2 separate regions of the Homo sapiens genome follow, and region 1 is linked to region 2. Evidence: promoter capture Hi-C in 16 types of primary human blood cells and fetal thymus (Javierre and others, 2016). All regions are on one chromosome and are shown on one strand. The core of a region is centred on a gene start or on the middle of the fragment in contact, and the rest is flanking DNA. Distances in the headings are between cores, read along the strand shown.

The links. Contacts are between HindIII fragments. The CHiCAGO score rates a contact against its expected background, and 5 or more counts as called.
Region 1: a fragment that was not itself captured here is called in contact with the fragment with the promoter of TRIM21 in region 2 in 1 of 17 cell types (monocytes); the score reaches 5.3 in monocytes.

The regions. Positions count from the first base shown.
Region 1 is chr11:4,494,697-4,501,745 of GRCh38, forward strand. No RefSeq gene overlaps it. Among named protein-coding and RNA genes, the nearest start is that of OR52K1, 16 kb to the left of the region's middle. RefSeq lists an enhancer at 450-1,649. The HindIII fragment of the contact is 4,788 bases long and covers 3,173-7,049 here.
Region 2 is chr11:4,392,002-4,398,933 of GRCh38, forward strand. TRIM21 (tripartite motif containing 21) reads right to left here and starts at 1,701. Exons shown (of 7, transcript NM_003141.4): 1 at 1,632-1,701. RefSeq lists enhancers at 1,592-1,801, 1,822-1,881. The HindIII fragment of the contact is 6,932 bases long and covers 1-3,509 here.

The DNA of each region.
Region 1 (7,049 bases), core at 4,317-6,816, 110 kb after region 2:
GTGTCTTGGTATTAGTAGCAAAGAGTTGATAGGTAGTGTTCCATAGCCTTATTCCTGTCATGGCTGCAGCTAATTTCCATAATTCAGGATGTTCTGGGGTAACAATTGGATGAATCATTTTTGGTCTAGGAGGAATGATGCCTGTGTACATCAATTTAAATGGGTAAGGAGCTACCCATTCCCTCAACCTGTAGGACTGCCATCCGTCCTCTACATATTCTAACAAATAAACTCTGAGCATGTCATATTTTGGCTGGAGCAATTCCGCCAATAATAAATACCCTCTTGGAGCCCAGTCAACAACAACAACCGTAGGTAGAGTTTGGAACACTACGGGCTTTGAAGCATTACAATCATTCCATACAATTGAATTTACTAAAAAAGGTCCCTTTGTAGGTTTATTGGAGCAGTCTGGCAGTCCTTTTGTTATTTTTTGTGGTAACAGGAACCCTCCAGTCCTCATGTGGATTAAGTTTAACAATCATAAGTTGAAAAGAGTTGGTACTGAACACATTATGTACCTGATAAGAATCATTACTCAAGGATGGTATGGTCCACATCCAATTCTGATAAGAATAAGCTAAACAGCCAGGTGACATTCCAATGCACAGTGGTGGATATTTATAGCCGATTGACAAATTAAAGTGCACATCTCCTTCTGGTTGAGCTGGAAAGCTGTCATCATTAGGGGCTGGCATGAAGGCACTATTATTAGTGTAAACTTCTACTGAGGAGTCCATCCAGGAGACAGACTGAATTAAAGGGGGAAAAGGAACATATGTGCAAGAAGCATAATTTTGAGTTGCCCCAACTGCTGGTATACTCACCACTACACTGACTACCATAAAGGCAGCCAGAATTATATTACCTGTTTTTGGAATTCCTTTTTCTTGTAGTAATTTTTCCGTTTGATGTGATAAGACCTTTATTTGACCCCATGTTGGTGGAGTAGAATGACTGGTATTGTAGGTCACACGGTGAGATTGTGTCATAATGTTGAGGTCATGGAATTTATGTGTCAGGCGGCAAAGCTTGCCTTTCAATTTCTGACGTTTCTTCGCCTTTTGTTTCTGAGAGCTTTTTATCTTTGAAGTTATAGTGCAATTTCAGTTGCCGGGAGGGAACCCACACGGGTTGTTGTCCTTCTTTTGGGCAAACACAGCAAAACCCCTACCCCATGTTACCACAGTGCCTGATTCCTGTTTGTCAGTTTTGCATCTTTCCACCATACCCGCTTTTCCTTTTTGTGGATCAAATTTATTTCCAGTGAAATGTTCTGCTGCTGTAAAAGGTTGATTTCTTACTAAATTTAAGAAATTTAGTGTAAAAAAGCAGCACTAGTGTAGCCGGGGCCGTCATTAGTTTTTAGTTTCTCGGGACAGCCCATAACTGAGAAAGATGAAAGTATGTGTCGTTTAACATGAACCATATACTTTCCCTTGTTTGACAAGTGACCCAGATAAAATGAGAAAAGGTGTCAATAGTTAATGTATAAAAGAGAGTTTGCCGAAAGCAGGATAATGAGTCACATCCATTTGCCAGAGAGCATTTTGTGAAAGTCCTCTAGGATTAACTCCTGAAGAAAGTGGCTGTAACATTAACACTTGACAAGTAGGACAGTGATGTACGATGGTTTTAGCTTGTTTGCCTGTAAAGGGGAACTTTTTCCAGAGTCCTGCAGCACTGACATGAGTTAAAGCATGAACATTTTCTGCATCTGTAAAAACGGGAGCAACTAATGTATCAGCTTTGGCATTTGCTGCCGAGAGGGGTCCGGGGAGGGGTGTGTGAGCCCGAATGAGTAATGTAGAAAGAAGACCTTGCTGTGAGTACGGATTGAAACTTTTGGAAAAGAAAAATTAGGTTATCAGGCAGAAGTTTGATTAAGGCAGTTTCAACGTTGCGAGCAACATGTACTACATAGGCCGAATCAGAAACGATGTTAACTGGTTCAGGGAAATCTTCAAGAACAGCCATGACAGCGATCAGCTCAGCTCGTTGTGCTGAAATAACTCCTGTGTTAAGAACACATTCTCTTGGCCCGGTACATGCTGCTTGGCCATTATTACAGGAAGCATCAGTAAAAACAGTGACAGCTTCAGCTAATGGTGTGTTTCTAGTAATGTTAAGGTAAGATCCAAGAAGTGAGTTTAAGGAACCGGAATAGTTTTGCATTAGGATAATGATAATCAGTTATACCCGGGAAACGTGCCAAATGTACTTGCCAAGCAATGCAGGTTGCAAAAGCCTGTTGGACTTGTAATCAGGTGAGGGGAACAATGATTTTTTGGGGCTTAATAACCTTGTCTTCTAGCTGCATTCCTAAATAGTGATAAGGAGAAGAAGTCTGGATTTTTTCTGGGGCAATAACCAAACTGGCTGTTGCAACTGCAGTTGTGCTGCAGAAAAACAAGATATTAACACGGAGCGTGAAGGTGCCGCAAGATCAGCCGCCTGCTGAGCAAGATCAGTGGGTTGTGGCTGATTTTTTGCCACAGGGAAGGCAGGTATTGGAGGTTGTAAAATTAGAGGAAATTGCCAGGCTTCGGGATCCCCATATTCTCTTGCCTGTGCTATAGCCCTCATAAGAGGAGTCTCATTTTTAGGAATGTATGTGACTTGTCACAGTAGCCACCGGACCAGAAGCAGAAAAAAGTTGGAATTTTGAATGGAGGAAAAGTTGAGAACCTGTAAACCAGGATGAGACGAGATTACCTGCCGAGCAGATCTTTCATGGGCCTGAAATCCAGGCTGCCCCGGTAATTGCAGACCAGGCTACAGGGGAGCCTGAGGTTTCTTAAAGGGAACCCGATATTCCAAGAGAGATCCAGGCTTCAAGGGAAACATTTTCCGAGAGAGACCCAGGCTTCAAGGGAACCTGATTTTCCGAGAGAGACCCAGGCTTCAGGGGAGCCTGAGGCTTCAAGGGAGCCTGATTTGTGGAAAGAGAATCAGGCTTCAGAAATGGAAAACTAGGCTGTGGAGGGATAGGATTGGGGCCTCATTACCAGGCCAAACAGGCAGAAGGTTGAGAGCCCTACAGCAGGGCTGAACAGGGACAGGGTTGAGATAATACAGGAGGGTTTTTATGAAGTTTAAATAAGTCGAGTACTTAGTACTGGCTTGTCCCCTGGTGTCCCCGGGATACTCTGAGTGCTCAAGCTTACCACCAAGCTTATTGACCACAGTCCTCAGAAATCTGTCGTCAAATGAATTGTTTTGGGCCCAGATAATATATAATTTTGATAATTTCACTTATTTGTACCTTGATTTTCCCCTGGAGCCCTAGCCTGCTTTTCTCTTTCTCTGAAGCAGAATTGTCCCTCACAGGATCCGTAATCATGCCAACTTCTCTGAACTGACTATATTGTACTGGATTCCCTGAAGTAGGTTCAAACTACAGGGCTGGTATCAGATATGTTTTTTTATTCAGACTTGCATTTAAATCTTTAATCCATCTTGAATTGATTCTTTTATATGGTGTAAGGAAGGGATCCAGGAGTAATCTTCTGCATATGGCTAGCCAGTTATCCCAGCACTATTTATTGAATAGGGGGGTCCTTTCCCTATTGCTTGTTATTGCTGGCTTTGTTGAACATCATCTATCTCCACTTTTGTAGATTACATATGAGAGATTATATAGTATTTGTCTTTCTGTGCCTGGCTTATAACATAATGCCATCCACATTCATCCATATTGTTGCAAGTGATGGGATTTTAAGGCTGAATAGTATCCCGTTGTGTATACATACCACATTCTCCACTCATCTGTTGATGGCCATTTAGGTTGATTCCATATCTTGGGTATAGTGAGTAGTGCTGTAATGAACATGTGAGTGCAGACCTATTTTCAACATGAGGTTTTCATTTCCTGTGGATATCCATCAAGAAGAGGGTTTATTGGATCATATGAGAGTTATACTTTATATGAGAGTTTAATTTAAGGAACTGCCATAGTTTTTCCCCATAATGGCTGTACTAGTCTACATTCCCACCAACAGTGTGCAAATGTTCCTTTGTCTCTGCATCCTCATCAGCACTTGTTCTTTTTGTTCAGGACTGCTTTGGCTATTCACAACTTTTGTGGTTCCATATAAAATTTAGGATTTTTCCCCTCTACTCATGAGGAAAACATCATTGGAATTTTAATACGGATTGCATTGAATTTGTAGATCACTTTGCATAGTATGGGCACTTAAAAATATTCTTCTGATCCATAAACTTGGGATATCTTTTCACTTATTTGTATTTTCTTTTTTTTGAGAAGGAATCTTGCTGTCACCCAGGCTGGAGTGTAGTGGCACGATCTCGGCTCACTGCAAACTCTGCCTCCCGGGTTCATGCCATTCTCCTGCCTCAGCCTCCCAAGTAGCTGGGACTACAGGTGCCCGCCACCACGCCCAGCTTTTTTTTTTTTTTTTTTTTTTTGTATTTTTAGTAGAGACGGGGTTTCGCTGTGTTAGCCAGGATGGTCTCAATCTCCTGACCTCATGATCCACCTGCCTCGGCCTCCCAAAGTGCTGGGATTACAGGTGTGAGCCACTGCGCCTGGCCTCACTTATTTGTATTTTCAACTCCTTTCAGTGTTTTATAGTTTTCAATGCACAGGTCTTTAACTCCTTGGTTAAATGTATTTCTACATTTTATTTTTTCGTAGCTATCATGAATGGAATTGTTGTCTTATTTTCAGATATTTCATTGTTTGTGTATAGAAACACTGTTGATTTTTATGTGTTGATTTTTATTTATGACTTTTCTAAATTTATTAGTTCCAACAGTTTTTTGTGTGTAGAATATTTAGTTTTCTGTACGCAAGATTATTTCATCTGTAAACAGGGACAGTTTAACTTCTTTCTGATTTGGATATCTTATTTTTTTCTCTTGCCTAATTGCTCTAAGACTTCAGCACTATGTTGAATACAATTGGTGACAGTGGGAATCCTTGTCTTGTTTCCAGTCTTAGAGGAAAATCTTTCAACTTTTGAGAGTGTTGTTAGCTATGAGTTTATCATATACAATCTTTATTGTGTTAAGGTACAATTTTTTTTTTTTTTAAATATAGGCTCTTACTCTGTCACCAGGCTGGAGTGCAGTGGTATGATCATGGCTCACTGCAGCCTCAACCTTCCAGAGCCCAAGTGACCCTCCCACCTTCAGCCTCCTGAGTAGTTGGGACTACAGGCATGTGCCACCATGCCCAGCTATTTTTTGTATTTGTAGTAGAGATGGGGTTTCACCATGTTGCCAGGCTTGTCTCCAACCCCCGGGCTCAAGTGATCCACCCTCCTCGGCCTTTCAAAGTGCTGGGATTACAGCCATGAGCCACGCCACTGTACCTGGCTGAGGTACAACATTTTATACTTAATTTGTTGATAGTTTTTTTTAAGTCACTAAAGGATGTTGCATTTTGTCAGTTTTTTCTGCATCTAATGAGGTAATCATATGATTTGTCCTTTATACTGTTAACATTGTGTATCACATTTATAAACTTGCATATACTGAACCATCCTCACATCATTGGGATAAATCCCACTTGATCATGGTTAAATGATTCTTTAATGTGCTGTTGAATTTTGTGCTAGTATTTTGTTGAGGATTTTTGCATCTATATTCAGAAATAAATTGGTCTATAATTTTCATTTCTTCTATCTTGTCTGGATTTGGCATCAGGGAAATGCTGCTCTTGTAAAATGAGTTTGGAAGTAGTTCTTGTTCGATTTTTTGAAGTGTGACAAGGATTGGTATTAGTTCCTTAAATGGTAGGATTGCACAATGAAGCCATCAGCTCTTGAGTTTCTTTGGTGGAAGATTTTTAATTATTGATTCATTACTTATTCATCTGCTCATATTTTAAATTTCATCATGATTTAGTTTTTGTAGGTTATAAGTTTAGGAATCTAAACATATAACCTTCTAAGCTATCCAATTTGTTGGCATATAATTATTCATAGTGGTCTTTAGTGATCCTTCATATTTATAGGTATCAGTTACAATGTTTTCCGTTTCTGATTTTGAGCATTCTTTCTTAGGTTTGTAGAGATTTCTCAGACTTTCTAAAGTTTTATATTGTTTATCTTTAAGAAAACAACCCAGTTTAATTTATATTTTCTATTGTTTTTCTAGTCTCATTTCTGCTCATGCCTTTTTTTCCCCTCATACTTATTTGGGGCTTAGTTTCTTCTTTTTCTATTTTCTTGAGGTGTAACATTTAGGCCATTTGTTTGGGATCTTTGATGTTGGCGCTTGTTGCTGTAACTTCCTTCTTAGATTGCTTCGCTACATCCCATAAGTTTTGGTGTGTTGTGCTTCCATTTTTATCTCAATCTTTCATTTCCCCTCTAATTTATTTGACCCTTTGATTATTCAGGAAAATGTTTAAGTTTCCATATATTGGTAAGTTTTCAAAAGTTCTTCCAGTTATTGATTTTTAGTTTCATACTATTGTGGTCTAAAAAGAGACTTGATACGATTTTGATTTTTTAAAATTTGTTAAGCCTTGTTTTGTGGATTAACATGGTCCATCCTAGAGAATGTTTTTTTGTGTACTTGAGAATATGTATGTTGCTATTCTTGGATTAAATGTTCTGCATATGGTTATCAGGTTCATTTGGTCTAGAGTGTTTTTAGTCAGTTTTCTTATGAATGTTCTCTCTAGATTATTTGTACATTGCTGAAAGTGGGGTATTGACGTCCCCTAGTAATTGTATTATACATTCTTTGTCTATTAATATTACCTTTATATATTCAGGTGGCCTGATGTTGGGTACACATATATACTTACAATTGTTATATCTTCTTGATAAATTTACCCCTTTATCAACATATATTATCATTTTACAGTTTTTGACTTAAATTCTATTTTATCTAAGTATATCTACCCCTGCTCTATTTTTGGTTCCCATTTGCATGGAATATATTTTACCATCTTTACTGTTGGTGTGTGTGTTTTTACAGGTGAAGTGAGTCTCAGGCAGCATACAGTTGAGTCTTTTTTAATCTATTAAGCCACTCTGTCTTTTGATTAGACAATTTAATTCATTTACATTCAA
Region 2 (6,932 bases), core at 451-2,950:
AGATCTAGTATTTGATAGTACAACAGGGTGACTATAGTCAATAATTTAATTGTACATTAAAAATAAGAGTATAATTGCATAGTTTGTATTACAGATGATCAATGCTTGAGGTGATAGATGCCCCACTTACCCTGATGTGATTATTACACATTGTATACCTGTATCACAATATTCCATATACCCATAAATATACCTACTATGTGCCCACAAAAATTAAAAATATACTAAAAAAAGAAAAACAAAATGATGCAAAGGAAAATAAAAAATAAGAATAAAAATAATGGGTCAGGCACGGTGGCTCACACCTGTAATCCCAGCACTTTGGGAGGCCGAGGTGGGTGGATCACCTTAGGTCAGGAGTTCAAGACCAGCCTGACCAATATGGTAAAACCCTGTCTCTACTAAAAATACAAAAATTAGCTGGGAGTGGTGGTGGGCACCTGTAATCCCAGCTACTTGGGAGGCTGAGGCAGGAGAATTGCTTGAACCTGGGAGGCAGAGGTTGCAGTGAGCCAAGATTGTGCCATTGCACTCCAGCCTGGGTGACACGGCGAGACTCCCTCTCAAAAACAAAACAAAACAAAACAAGGCATAAAATTAATGGCAAAACAATTAATGTCAAAAACAGTAATTACTTTTGCACCGATCAAACAGTTTGTTGAATAAGTTTATTCCTGTTCTGAATAACAAGAACTCCTCCATTGTTTGGTCCATTGATCCAGTGAGACAGAAGGAGAAACTGAGTCCCTAAAAGAGGGAATGAAAATTGGCAAGAACCTCATAAAGCTGTTGACAGTTCTACTCTCATCATGTCCATTCCTGCTTAAACCCTCAGTGCTCATCCATCTCCTGTCGGGTACCAACAGGCCTCCATGTTGCTGAGAAATTATAGCTACTTTTTACCATGTACCTTCCATGTGCCAGAGATACTTCATGCTTTGAATATATCTTCATTAATCCCTCCTATAACGGCGGAAGTCAGTTGCATATATGTATGTAGGTGTATATGTATGTATACACACAGAGTAACAGGAACCGTGGCCAGCACTCCCTGGGCTCTTTTCTCAGCTGCTCCAAACTTAGTTTAGTTCCTGACAACACTTATTCTAGGACAAAGAATAATTCTGAAGGCCTATACATTTCTGGTTGAACATCCTAAACAGCCTGCCCCTCTCACCTCTGGAGGACTTTTGGACCTGGGAGTCTCCAGAATTGCAGACCTCCCCGACACTGGGCTCCCTACCCTCCTGGCTAGGCTGTAGTCCTGGCTATCCCAGCCACACCCAGCCGTCATCCTAGGTCAGGTGCCAGCATGGGGGCAGCCGGGCCCCTTCCCCTTCTGGGTAACTCCACAGTCACGTCCACAACCCAGCCTCCTCCCAGGTAGGGGGCAGCCGGGCCCCTTCCCCTTCTGGGTAACTCGGCAGTCAGGTCCACACCCCAGCCTCCTCCCAAGCAGGGGGCCAGCACCGGAAGCGCAGCTGGTCTTGGGTTGAGGGATCCCTGGTGGGAGAAGGGGCAAATGGGACCGGCTCAAGGATGGAGACTGGAAGGGGCTCTGCAACCCTGGGGCAGGGGAGAGAGGTCCCCTAGGAGGGCAGGGGTCCCTTGATCTAGTGGGGTTCACTCACCTTTACAGGGGACTCAACGCTGGTAGCCAGCTCCCTATTTCACTTTCAGTTTCCGCTCAGAAGCAAGTCTGAGAGGAAAGGGGAGGGAGGAGGAGGAGCCGTGGGAGGAGTGAGGGAGGAGCAGTGGGAGGAGCAGAGCCTTGAAAGGGTGTGTGGAGAAATGCGGCTGAGAAGAGAAGTCAGAGTTGAGCTGGGGGAGGCTTCAGAGGCTCTGCATGCCCAGGAGGCTTCTCTGAGACTGGGAAGGAGTGGAAACTCAGTAGCCCGTGGTCCTGGTTGCGCGCTCCCTCCCATGTCTTCATTATCTGATTTGGTAAAATATCTACAAGACGGGGGAGTCCGGGCTGCTTTCTTTGACACTGGTCATCACTCCACACCTAGACGCTATGTCCATGTCTGGAAGATGCTTTTAAGGAAGTTTTGATGCAGAGAAGAGTGGCCGGTGCTCTTCCTCGCGTGCCACCATCTGCTTACTTCCAGAAGCTAATTATTTTCATGTGACTGATGTGACTAATATTTTTTAACGCCTGCAGGTGAGTGATTTATTTCGCATGACCCCAAGGTGAGTGTCCCACCAGTGAGTGGTGAGAAGGAAATTGACATTTGACAACCAACTGTGTTCTTGTCACTGAGCTAGGGACATTCTCAGGTTATATTATTTTTATTTTTAATCGTAAAAATATAGAACATAAAATTTACCAAAGTAATTTTTTTAATTTTCAATCTTGTGTGTCTATAGTAGGTGTATATATTTGTGGGGTACATGAAATATTTTGATACAGGTAGAGCATACAATCCGTAATAATCATATCAGGGTAAGTGGGGTATCTATCCATCACCTCAAGCACTTATCATTTGTGTTATATACAATCCAGTTATATGCTTTTAGTTATTTTAAAATGATAAATTATCATTGACTGTATTCACCTTGTTATGCTATAAAATACTAGATCTTATTCATTCTCTCTCATGTATTTTTGAACCCATTAATCATTCCCCACTACCCTTCCCAGCCTTTGGTAACCATCATCCTCTCTATCTTCATGAGTTGGATTGTTTTAATTTTTAACTCCCACAAATAAGTGAGAACATAACAATTTGTTTGTTTGCCTGTGTTTGGTTTATTTTACTTAACATAATAATCCCCAATTCCATCCATCTTGTAGCAAATGAAAGGTTCTCCTTCTTTTTATGGCTGAATAGTGCTCCATTGTGTATGTGTACCACACTTTCCTTATCCATTTATCTGTTGATGGACACTTACGTTGCTTCCAAATCTTGGCTATTGTGAATAGTGCTGCGATAAACATGGGAGTGCAGATATCTCTTTGATATACTGATTTCCTTTCTCTTGGATATATACCTAACAGTATTTCTTCTGGGTATATACCTAGCAGTATCCAGTAGGATTGCTAGATTACATGGTAGCTCTATTTTCAGGTTTTTTTTTTTTTTTGAGGAACCTTCAAATTGTTTGCCATAGTGTTTGTACTAATTTCCATTCCCATTGACAGTGTATGAGGGTTCCCTTTTCTACATATCCTTGCCAGCATTTGTTATTGCCTTTCTTTTGGTTAAAAGACATTTTAACTGAGGTGAGATAATATCTCGTAGTTTTGATTTGCATTTCTCTGATGATCAGTGGTGTTGAACACATTTTCATATATCCATTTGCCACTTGTATGTCTTCTTCTGAGGAATGTCTATTCAGATCGTTTGTCCATTTTTGAATCAGATTATTATATTTTTTTCCTATAGAGTTGTTTGAGTTCTTTGTATATTCTGGTTATTAATCCCTTGTCAGATGGATAGTTTGCAAATATTTACTCCAATTCTGTGGGTTATCTCTCTACTTCATTGTTTCCTTTGCTGTGCAGAAGCTTTTTAACTTGATGTGATCTCATTTGTCCAGTTTTGCTTTGGTTGCCTGTGCTTATGGAATATTTGAAAGAAATTTTTGCCCAGTCCAATGTCCTGGAGAGTTTCCCCAATATTTTCTTGTAGTAGTTTCATAGTTTGAGGCCTTAGATTTTTTTTTAAATTATACTTTAAGTTCTAGGGTACATGTGCACAACATGCAGGTTTGTTACATATGTATACACGTGCCATGTTGGTGTGCTGCACCCATTAACTCATTTACATTGGATATATCTCCTGATGCTATCCCTCCCCCCTCCCCCCACCCCAGGACAGGCCTCAGTGTGTGATGTTCCCCTTCCTGTGTCCATGTGTTCTCATTGTTCAATTCCCACCTATGAGTGAGAACATGCGGTGTTTGGTTTTCTTGTCCTTGCAATAGTTTTCTGAGAATGATGGTTTCCACTTTCATCCATGTCCCTACAAAGGACATGAGCTCATCCTTTTTTATGGCTGCATAGCATTCCATGGTGTATATGTGCCACATTTTCTTCATCCAGTCTATCATTGTTGGACATTTGGGTTGGTTCCAAGTCTTTGCTATTGTGAATAGTGCCACAATAAACATATGTGTGCATGTGTCTTTATATCAGTATGATTTATAATCTTTTGGATATATACCCAGTAATGGGATGGCTGGGTCAAATGGTATTTCTAGTTCTAGATCCTTGAGGAATCACCATACTGTCTTCCACAATGGATGAACTCGTTGACAGTCCCACCAACAGTGTAAAAGTGCTCCTGTTTCTCCATATCCTGTCTATCACCCATTGTTTCCTGACTTTTTAATGATCGCCATTCTAACTGCTGTGAGATAGTATCTCATTGTGGTTTTGATTTGCATTTCTCTGATGGCCAGTGATGATGAGCATTTTTCCATGTGTCTGTTGGCTGCATAAATATCTTCTTTTGAGAAGTGTCTGTTCATATCCTTTGCCCACTTTTTGATGGGGTTGTTTTTTTCTTGTAAATTTGTTTGAGATCTTTGTAGATTCTGGATATTAGCCCTTTGTCAGATGAGTAAATTGCAAAATTTTTCTCCTATTCTATAGGTTGCCCATTCACTCTGATGGTAGTTTCTTTTGCTGTGCAGAAGCTCTTTAATTAGATCCCATTTGTCAATTTTGTCTTTTGTTGCCATTGCTTTTGGTGTTTAAGACATGTAGTCCTTGCCCATGCCTATGTCCTGAATGGTATTGCCTAGGTTTTCTTCTAGGGTTTTTGTGGTTTTAGGTCAGAATAACCAATGCAGAGAAGTCCTTAAAGGACCTGATGGAATGGTGCTATCCAGCCCAGATACTATGCTTTTCCCATGGTCTATGCAACCCACGGACCAGGAGATTCCCTTGGATGCCTACACCACCAGGACCCTGGGTTTGAAGCACAAAACTGGGTGGCTGTTTGGGCAGACACTGAGCTAGCGGCAGGATTTTTCATGCCCCAGTGGCGTCTGGAACACCAGCAAGACAGAACTGTTCACTCCCTTGGAAAGGGGGCTGAAGCCAGGGAGCCAAGTGGTCTAGCTCAGTGGATCCCACCCCCATGGAGCCCAGCAAGCTAAGATCCACGGGTTTGAAATTCTTGCTGCCAGTGCAGCAATCTGAAATTGACCTGAGATGCTTGAGCTTGGTGGAGTGAGGGGCATCCACCATTACTGAGGCTTGAGTAGGCGGTTTTCCCCTCACAGTGTAAACAAAACTGCTGGGAAGTTCGAATTGGGTGGAGCCCACCAAAGCTTCGCAAACCTGCTGTAGCCAGACTGCCTCTCTAGATTCCTCCTCTCTGGGCATGACATCTTGAAAGAAAGGCAGCAGCCCCAGTCAGGGGCTTATAGCTAAAACTCCCATCTCCCTGGGACAGAGCATCTGGGGGAAGGGGTGGCGGTGAGCACAGCTTCAACAGCCTTAAACATTCTTGCTTGCCAGCTCTGAAGAGAGCAGTGGATCTCCCAGGACAGTGCTTGAGCTCTGATAAGGCACAGACTGCCTCCTCAAGTGGGTCCCTGACCCCTGTGCCTCCAGACTGGGAGACACTTCCCAGGAGGGGTCAACAGACACCTCATACAGGAGAGCTCTGGTTGGCATCTGGCGGGTGCCCCTCTGGGACAAAGCTTCCAGAGGAAGGAACAGGCAGCAATCTTTGCTGTTCTGCAGCCTCTGCTGGTGATACCCAGGCAAACAGGGTCTGGAGTGGACCTCCAGCAGACCTGTAGCAGAGGGACCTGTTAGAAGGAAAACTAACAAACAGAAAGCAATAGCGTCAACCTCAACAAAAAGAATGTCCACACAAAAACCCCATCCAGAGGTCACCAATATCAAAGACCAAAGGTAGATAAATCCATGAAGATGAGGAAAAACCAGTGCAAAAAGGCTGAAAATTCCAAAAAACAGCACACCTCTTCTCCTGCAAAGAATCACAACTCCTTGCCAGCAAGGGAACAAAACTGGATGGAAAATGAGTTTGATGAATTGACAGAAGTAGGCTTCAGAAGGTGGGTAATAAGAAACTCCTCTGTGCTAAAGGAGCATGTTCTAACCCAATGCAAGGAAGCTAAGAAACTTGAAAAAAGGTTAGAGGAATTGCTAACTAGAATCATCAGTTTAGAGAAGAAGATAAATGACCTGATGGAGTTGAAAAACATAGCATGAGAACTTCATGAAGCATACACAAGAATCAATAGCCGAATTGATCAAGAGGAAGAAAGGATATCAGAGATTGAAGATCAACTTAATGAAATAAAGCATCAAGACAAGATTAGAGAAAAAAGAATGAAAAGGAACAAGCAAAACCTCCAAGAAATATGGACTATGTGAAAAGACCAAACCTCCATTTGATTGGTGTACCTGAAAGTGACAGGGAGAATGGAACCAAGTTGGAAAACAGTCTTCATGATACTGTCCAGGAGAACTTCCCCAACCTAGCAAGACAGGCCAACATTCAAATTTGGGAAATACAGAGAACACCACAAAGATACTCATCAAGAAGAGCAATCTTAAGACACAATAGTCAGATTCACCAAGGTTGAAATGAAGGAAAAAATGTTAAGGGCAGCCAGAGAGAAGTGTCTGTCCACACAGGGAAGCCCAACAGACTAACAGCGGATCTCTCTGCAGAAACCCTACAAGCCAGAAGAGAGTGGGTGCCAATATCAACATTCTTAAAGAAAAGAATTTTCAGCCCAGAATTTCATATCCAGCCAAACTAAGCTTCAGAAGCAAAGAAGAAATACAAACCTTTATAGACAAGCAAATGCTGAGAGATTTTTGTCACCACCAGGCCTGCCTTACAAGAGCTCCTGAAGGAAGCTCTAAATATGAAAAGGAAAAGCTGGTACCAGCCACTGCAAAAATATACCAAATTGTAAAGACCATTGACACTATGAAG